Regions from separate parts of the Homo sapiens genome. Here region 2 is linked to region 1. Evidence: promoter capture Hi-C in human tissues and cell types (Jung and others, 2019). All regions are on one chromosome and are shown on one strand. Each heading gives the region's core, a stretch centred on a gene start or on the middle of the fragment in contact. The rest is flanking DNA. Distances are from core to core; before and after follow the strand shown. Region 1 holds the start of PRSS1 (serine protease 1). Region 2 has its middle 45 kb from the start of PRSS1.

Region 1 (4,315 bases), core at 851-3,350:
GTAGTGGGGTGGGGAAGAGTCAAAGGGATCCCACCAGAGGCTGCTCCTCAACCTGCCTCCCCAGACTCTTTCCCACAATCTCCACAGTCACTAGCACTGTGGGCACAAGGAGCTCCTTGAAGTTTTCCCAGCGTTCTTCACCCCAGGCCTTTGCCAACTGTGCACAGTGCCTGTTCCTCCCTCCATTCTTGGCCTGGTGAGAACCACCCTTCTGTGTAATCTAATCCAAGGGTAGCCATAGCATTAGCATCTCCTGGGAACTTGTTAGAAATGTGAATTCTTGGTCCTTACCCCCACCTACTGATCAGAACCTTGGGGAAGGGGCCCAGTGATTTGTGCCTTAACAAGCCTGCAGGGCGTTCTGATGCATACTCAGGTTTGAGAGTTCTTGGTGTAGGCAGCAGTTCTCAGCTCTGTCTATACACTCTACAGTTAGCAGAGGTAGAGTGTAAAATTCTCACTGATATTCACACCCTCTTCCTGAAAATTTTGACTTAATTGCCCTGGGATAGGACAAAGGCATCTGTATTTTTAAAAAGTCTTTCTTAGTTGGCTTTAATGTGTAGCTAACCAGCAAAAGATACTTGCCTGCTTTTCTCACTAGCTCTCACCACCCCAAGATCATCCCTGCCTGCTTTTATGACCACAACCCTTGCTGTTTCATGGATTTGCCTGGGTGTGAGAGGTTCCTGTCTTGTGTTCACTCTCTGCTCTGGAGAGTCCGCAGCTGCCAACAAGTTTTCTTCTCCACCACCTCTCCCATCCATCTTACCCAACCTCAGTAGTTCCCTGGGCTGAAGCCAAGCTCTCCCAGGCAGACTGGCCGGGAGCTTTGCAGTCGGGGGCCCCACACTTACGACTTGTAGCAGTGGCCTGCTGATACCACCCACTGTTCGTTGATGAGGGAGCCACCACAGAAGTGGTAGCCAGAATTCAGGGACACCTGGTAGGGGACAGAATTCTCCTCACAGTTGTAGCCCCCAACGATCTTGTCATCATCATCAAAGGGGGCAGCAACTGGAGTGGAGATGGGAAGGGAGAAGGCAAGTCAATAGCATGTTAGGGGTGGCGCTCCCAGCCTGTGATTGCTTTCTGCTAATTAGAAATCCTTAACAAGCACAGTGAGGCTAGGCAAGGGAGGGAGCTCTGCCACCCCTGGTGATCATCACTGCCTGTGGCTCCCAAGTCTCTGTGCCTGCAGGGCACATAGCTAGGTACCCTGCGGAGGATCCGAGCTCTCCTGGGGTCACCAGGCTGAAGTCGCAAGGAATGTCCTCACAATGCTTCCAGTGGGATAGGAGTTGGGATGTGGTTGTCTCTCCCACTGAGTGCTTCTCTCTTTTATTCATCACCTGTGTACTTCCCCTGGCTATTTGGGCCCTGGATTGTCAGGATTCTTTTGCCAAGCTAGGAAAACCCCCTGTCTGCATAGACCTGGCCATGACCACCTTCCCCCATAGCTCAGATCTGTGCAGTCAGGGCAGAGTTGAGGGCAGCCCCCAGGCTCACTTTGGCAGAACAAAGGTAGACTTTGTTATTGGCCAATAGGACAGCAATTCTTAACCTTGGCTGCATGGCTGGAAATATTAAAAATCACCTGGGAAGCTTAAAAGCCCAGAACACAAGCTCTACCCCAGACAATTGAAGTTAGAATTTCTAGAGCTGAGTCTCTGGCATGAGTAATTTTTCAACCTCCCCAGGTGCATTCGAGGTTAGGAGCAGCTATAGTGGTGCTATTCTGTTGCTGTTGGAGCCAAGCCTGAAGCCTGCTGCTTCATTTCGTGGGACAGCCCCACCTGGCCCCCTTCCCAGCTTCTCCAACCACAACTCGGATATGGATGAATGACAGTGGTGGGAGTGAAGTCAAGGAGAAGGTGAACAGGTGAGACTTAAAAAGAGCCCAAGGAGGATGGGAAGGAGATATGCCAGATGGAGGAAACGGAATATCAGAGCACAGTCAAAAGAGGAGAGGTGGTAAGAATGGAAGGGCATTTGTCGGCCAGGAACGGGGGGGTGGTTGGGGCCTGAGGCAGGGCATGATACTCACGAGCAGCTGCCACAAAGGTAAGGATCAGGAGTGGATTCATGGTGGTAGAGTGTGCCTGACTGGTGGTGGAGGACTCGTCTTTATACCTCACGAGGATCCAGAGAGGAGGTGACTGTGAGGTGAGGGTCACCACTCCTCCCAGCACAAACACACCTGCAGCTTTCCTCTTCCCAGGGTCTTGCATCAGCCTGGCTATGTTTGGCCACTCTCTGGGTTTGTGATTCACAGGTGATAAGGAAACTTTCCTTCTGAGAGCAGAGAGCGAGACCGGCTGTTTCCTGCAAGGATACTGGGATGGGGAAGACAGGGAAAGTCAAGCCCCAGATAACAGAGCTGGGCTTTCTTAGGCCCTGGAGATGAGGGTTAGAAGGAGGGAGAATGGCCTAGCTGTTTACAAATCTTTCCACCTATTGGGAATGTATTTAATGTACTTAAGGAAGGGCAAGCATTGGTAAAAAGCTTGGATTTCAGTTTCCTGGGGCCCACATGAGAGGAGCAAAGTCTTATCTAAGGCTCATTCCTGTGAATATGAAGATGCTTCTCTCCAGTCAGTGTGCAGGAAGGTCAAATGCAAGATTTTGGGGAATGAAAATTCCAACACTAAGGGGTAAGGAGAAGGGAGACTCAGCATTCCATAGGATTCTGGGCTTCCAGATTTCTCTCCTTCCTACCAAGGCTTAAGGATGGGAAGTGTTTCAAAGAAGGAGGGGGCACAGTTTCTGTAGGAGCTTTCTCAGTGCCTCTGGAGGATGGAAAACCAATGGCGCACTCCTCCCCTTCTTCAATGTGAAGACATTTGTCTCTCTCATGTGCATCCTGTCATAGGTTCTTTTTATGCAGCCTCACTGTTGTCCTTGCAATCTGCACTCAGGTGATGCAAACTGACCCACCTGCTCAGGGCTGACAGTCTGAACCAGAATGATCAGATGATCATTTTCTATTTTCGATGCAGTGAGATTATGCTTGGCTCAGTACAAAGTGAATCTTCCTAGAGAATATCCTGATTTGGGCCCTACCAAGGCTACTAAGACACAGTTGTGTAATTGACTGAGGCACAACCTGGCCAGAGCAGTGTGGAAATGGAGATGCTGTCTGTGCTCAAGTCTAATGATGTAGGGAAAGGAGGAGCTTCCTTATGAGGGTGCTTTCCCTTCTCAGCAACTCTGAGCTCAGGCTGGTGATGGGCAGGAGTAAGTAGAGTTCAAGTTTGGATTCTTTGAAAGGTAAAAGAAGCAGAAATGTTCTAGAGACGGTGGACAAAATGGGAAAAGCTCAGAAACTTGGTGTTGAAATCGGACCTGGCCAGGGGGCTAGAGGGAGGAAGCAAATGGAAACCAGAGGGAATTGGAAATAATGCCAAAGTGGGGCCCATGGTGTTGAGAGGACACACAGAGTACCTTCGGTTTCAGCTCCTGGTATGGCTGCTGAGCCAGCTTCCCCACAGCCAGGAGACCCACTGCTTGGAGACCCCCTCTCCGCCTCGCACCCCCTCTAATCACTAATGGGCCCATACCTAACACTGCTATGCTTAGATGGTGCACAGTGCCTGACAACTTTACAAGAGTTTTCATGTAAGCAACAGTGGTACATTACTTTTCATTTATGCTGAGTTTCACACTTTAACTTCCCACAAACATGCTAATTGTAATTTGTGCAGAGCAAAATTGTTTCCATTTATAGAGCAAGAGACTGAGATTCAGAAGGATTCTGTCTTGCCCAAGAATACAGATCTTGGCAGAGCTGACCATAAGGCCAACAGAAGCCATGGAGAGCATTGTGAAGTGTGGGAATTTCATCTAAGAGGAGGTATCTAAAAGGAGATTTATTGAGGATCAAGACAGAGGTCCCTAGAGGACAAACTGTACATCTGATTCCTTCCTGGTGCTTTTCTTCCTGGTAGAAATGGATGATTGAATTTATCTTTCTCCTGGCACCTAGTCTCAGAGCATTACCATGCCACAGTTCGAGACCCATCCAGGCCATGACTGCCATGTAGATGACAAACTTCTCTGCTCACGAATAACTTGCCAAGCCTGAGGTAGCCAGGTTTTGGAGCATTGATAAAATGGGCTTTTCCTTTGTTGTCCCTGAACATGTTGTTTCATTTTGTCCCTTGTCATGGGGTCTTCACAGAACACCTGCCTTAGAGGATAAGGAGAGACTCCTGCTCTAACAACTGTAGATACTAGTGTGCACTAAACAGGGAGGTGAACCTTGGTAGAAGATGGAAAATTTTTTTGGAAAAGGGGATTTTTGGATCAGTGCTTG
Region 2 (3,752 bases), core at 17-2,516, 44 kb after region 1:
CCTTTACAAGTTTTTGTTAAAGAGTAGAATAGTGCTTTTATTCCAATGTTCAGTTTCTAGAATAACTGAATAACACCCCTTTAATTTTAGCCAATGTTCGCACACAGAATCTCTTTTATGGTTATTTTTTTCATAAGCCTTCCACAGCTTTCTTGAACAGTCAGCTTCATCCTAACTTGAAACGATCCTTTAATGCTTTAATCTAGGCAAAAATCTAAATTCCCATGACTTTATATATATATATATATAATTTTAATGAAAAATGCATTTCACTTTCTTTACACAATTTGCATATAAAACTGTTTCTTCAGTAGTATCAATTACATGTTATAATGTTGACTCTTACCAAGGTTTTTCACCAAAAGTTGCTAAATTCAGGATTTTAATTATGTACTAGGTGTGGAGCCTAGCCTTGGACACACCAGGCAGAAGTGCAGATAAAGGCTGACTCCAGCATAGCTAGGGGGCGTGGCTAACTCCACATGTCCCCAGGTCTTATCTAGAATCTAATGGCTTCAAGGTAGGTTAATTGAAAATTTTTCAAAAGTTAAAGAAGCAGTTTATGACCTTCAAGCATTTAGCAGTCTTAATATGTGTCCTGCCTAATTTAAGCCAAATGTTTACATTTTTGAAGATATTTTTATTTTATCAATAATCTTCAAAACTGTCCTTATTTCTGGAAAATTAAAGTCACGTGAACTAAAAGGCACTACACTTTTTACTTTTCTGACAAAATATTTGATTTAAGCTCTCATTAAACCCATTAATCAATGCTCTTTTAGAAATAAACATCACATACACATAATACATGTAAATACATACACATAGGAATATAAAAAAACTCATCCCCTGAGGCAGGAATAGAACCCTGAACACAGGATGCCATTGTGAAAAGCGAAAACATGGCCACATGGTTACAGCTTCAAGCTCCCAAGGACATGCAAGACAAGAAAAAAATCTCATCCAATTTTTCTCAGGAACCTGCAGCAAAGTTTGTAACTGACCAGTTTGCTGGTCTGTCTTGAAAAGCAGTTTACAAGTGTCCTCAGCCAGTGTTCTATCATAAGGTACCCCTCTTTATGACAGAATAATACAGAAAAACACACAAAGCACATCAGATTTGCTACAGCTTAAGTCTAGCCTCAAAAACCCTTTCTTCCATTAATCAAAACTTTATAGGAGACAGTTACTTTTACCATTAATTCAACCAGTTTGCAAGGAGAAAAAGAGAGAGACAGAGAGAAGGAGAGAAAGAAGAAAGCACTGCCTGAGGCAGGGTGGGGAAGGGGAGGCACTCGGAGACACCAGAGAAAGACCCACCCATTGCAGTGACACTGAACGGTTCAGGTGGCCGCATGATGGTTGTGAAGGATCTTTTCCAGCAGTCCCATCAGCTCTCAAGTTTTCTGTTTTAGGGAGAAAATAGTTCCCCATGTCCCATGATCCTGTACATGCCTAATCCTGTTACACACAGCTGTCAGCAAGGAGTTGAAGGCAGATTAATCCAAAGAGAATAGCAGTTAACATCCTGTAGTGCAAAACCTGTTCTTAGCCCGAAAGGACTTTACCAAGACAGACTTTCTAAGAAGGGCCACTAACCCCCTAAATCTTGGAAAGGGATTCTAATCCTCCTAAATCGGGCCTCTAACCCAAGGTCATTCAAGTGTCCTTGCCTTTTATTAAGAGGGGCCTTTAACCCTCTCTGTCTTAGGAGAGACTCTAACTCCCCTAAGTTGAGCCTCTATCCCAATCCCATTCTTTACCTGGGTAGGTACTCCACCACTTACCCAAAGTTGTCCAATCGGTGCTGCAGTCTATTTCCTTGGGTTGGGGGGAGGTCTTCTTAGTATCATCCCTTCAGGGTTTGCCAGGAAGATGTTACAGGACCCCAACACTTACCCAAAGTTATCCTTTCTTTCCAGCGTTTCCTCACTACAGTCCCTTCATCATCACCAGAAAGCTGTTACAGGAAAGGCTCCTTATCCAGACCCCAAGAGAGGATTCTTGAATCTCAAGCAAGAAAGAATTCAGGGGGAGTCCATAGCATAAAGTGAAAGCAAGTTTATTAGGAAAATAAAGGAATAAAAGAATAGCTTCTCTATAGATAGAGTAGCCCTGAGGGCTGCTTGTGGCCTATTTTTATGGTTATATCCTTTTATATGCTAAACAAGGGATGGATTATTCATGCTTCCCCTTTTTAGAACATACAGGGTAACTTCCTGATGTCATGGCGTTTGTGTCATAGCACTGGTGGGAGTGTAGCAGGGAGGACGACCAGAGGTCACTCTTGGGACTATTTTGGTTTCGGTGGGTTTTGGCCAGCGTCTTTACTACAGCCTGTTTCATCAGCAGGGTCTTTACGACCCGTATCTTGTGCTGACCTCCTATCTCATCCTGTGACTTAGAATGCCTTCACCATCTGGGAATGCAGCCCAGTAGGTGTCAACCTTATTTTACCCAGCTCCTATTTAAGATGGAGTTGCTGTGGTTCACATGTCTCTGAAAAATCCACCCTTAAAAGTGGCATCGTCTGATTCAAACTCCTGCCTTTGTACTTTTGCCTCTTAGGCTACTTCCCGGCACGACTTCTTTCATCAGCTGCCTTTTTTCAGCTGCTTGGAAATAGAGCCTTATAATAGTTTTCTCTTACTGCTGTATCCTATTACTGCAAATTAGTGGCTTAAAACAACGCAAACTTATTATCTTACAGTTCTTTTGGTTGGAAGTCCAGGGTCGGTCTCATTGGCAGTTTGCTCTTTGGAGGCTCTAGGAGAGAATGTTTTCTTTTTTCTCTTCTAGCTTCTAGAGGCCTCCCACATTCCTTGACTTGTGGCCCCTTTCATTATCTTCAGCAGCAACAGCAGGTAAAGTTGTCACATCACTCTCACCATAGTCCATACACTTTTATGTACCTATGTGTTTATACTGAGCCCACCTGCATGAGTCAGGATAATCTCCCTGCCTCAAGGTTAGCTAATTAGCACACTAAACTATCTACAAACTTAATTATCTTTTATTATGTATGGTAACATATTTACAGGTTCTGAGGTTTAGGACATAGACACCTTTCGGAGTCATTATCCTACCTACCAGTAGCCCTTAGACAGAAAAGGAAGGCAAGGGTTGTTAAATTTAAGAAATATACTTTGGAGGAAGAAGGAGAGAAGAGGCAAACCCAGGATCAAATCATTGTAGACATTGCTGATTTTTTTTTTTTAACAGCCACATAATGAACACCTGTTAAATATCAGGTGCTGTTTCAGACCCTGAGAATAGAGGCATAAACACAGAAGTCAGCATCCCTGTTCCCATATTAATTGTGTCTGATCATTCATTAAACATGGATGTCATGCATAGGAGAAGATTCTGGGGAAGGAATAATGGAAAGGCGTGGCATTTGACCACATGGATTTTGTAGGCCCATGGTAAGATCACTATACCAATAAACATGATAATTTGGTATTTGCAGAAAGGGAGAATTGTGTAAGCTATGGAGAATACAGGGGAAAGAGTCTACAATCTTCTTGGGAAAATGGCACATTTCATGTAGTGCTATTGTTTTAAGTTATATTTGAAAGGAATTTGCAGGTGTGCTGTGTAAGGGAAATACTATGCACAGCATGTTTGGAGATAGAGTTCAGTGTGGCTTAGAGCAAAGTAAGTGGGACTGTGAGTGGTAGGTGTGACTGGATTTCATATTAGGCTTGTAATCATAGAAACCTTTGTATATGTTACACACTTTTTTTCACCCA

Evidence for each region. The method cuts DNA at HindIII sites, captures the fragments that hold promoters and counts their contacts. A contact is called where the count stands out against the background at its distance.
Region 2: a contact is called between a fragment that was not itself captured here and the fragment with the promoter of PRSS1 in region 1, in 1 of the 25 tissues and cell types used here (neural progenitor cells).

Annotation. Positions count from the first base shown.
Region 1 is chr7:142,747,257-142,751,571 of GRCh38, reverse strand. PRSS1 (serine protease 1) reads right to left here and starts at 2,100. Exons shown (of 5, transcript NM_002769.5): 1 at 2,048-2,100; 2 at 858-1,017. The coding sequence starts at 2,087. It also overlaps TRB. The HindIII fragment of the contact is 6,237 bases long and covers 1-4,315 here.
Region 2 is chr7:142,702,550-142,706,301 of GRCh38, reverse strand. It overlaps TRB. Among named protein-coding and RNA genes, the nearest start is that of PRSS1, 45 kb to the left of the region's middle. The HindIII fragment of the contact is 6,355 bases long and covers 1-3,752 here.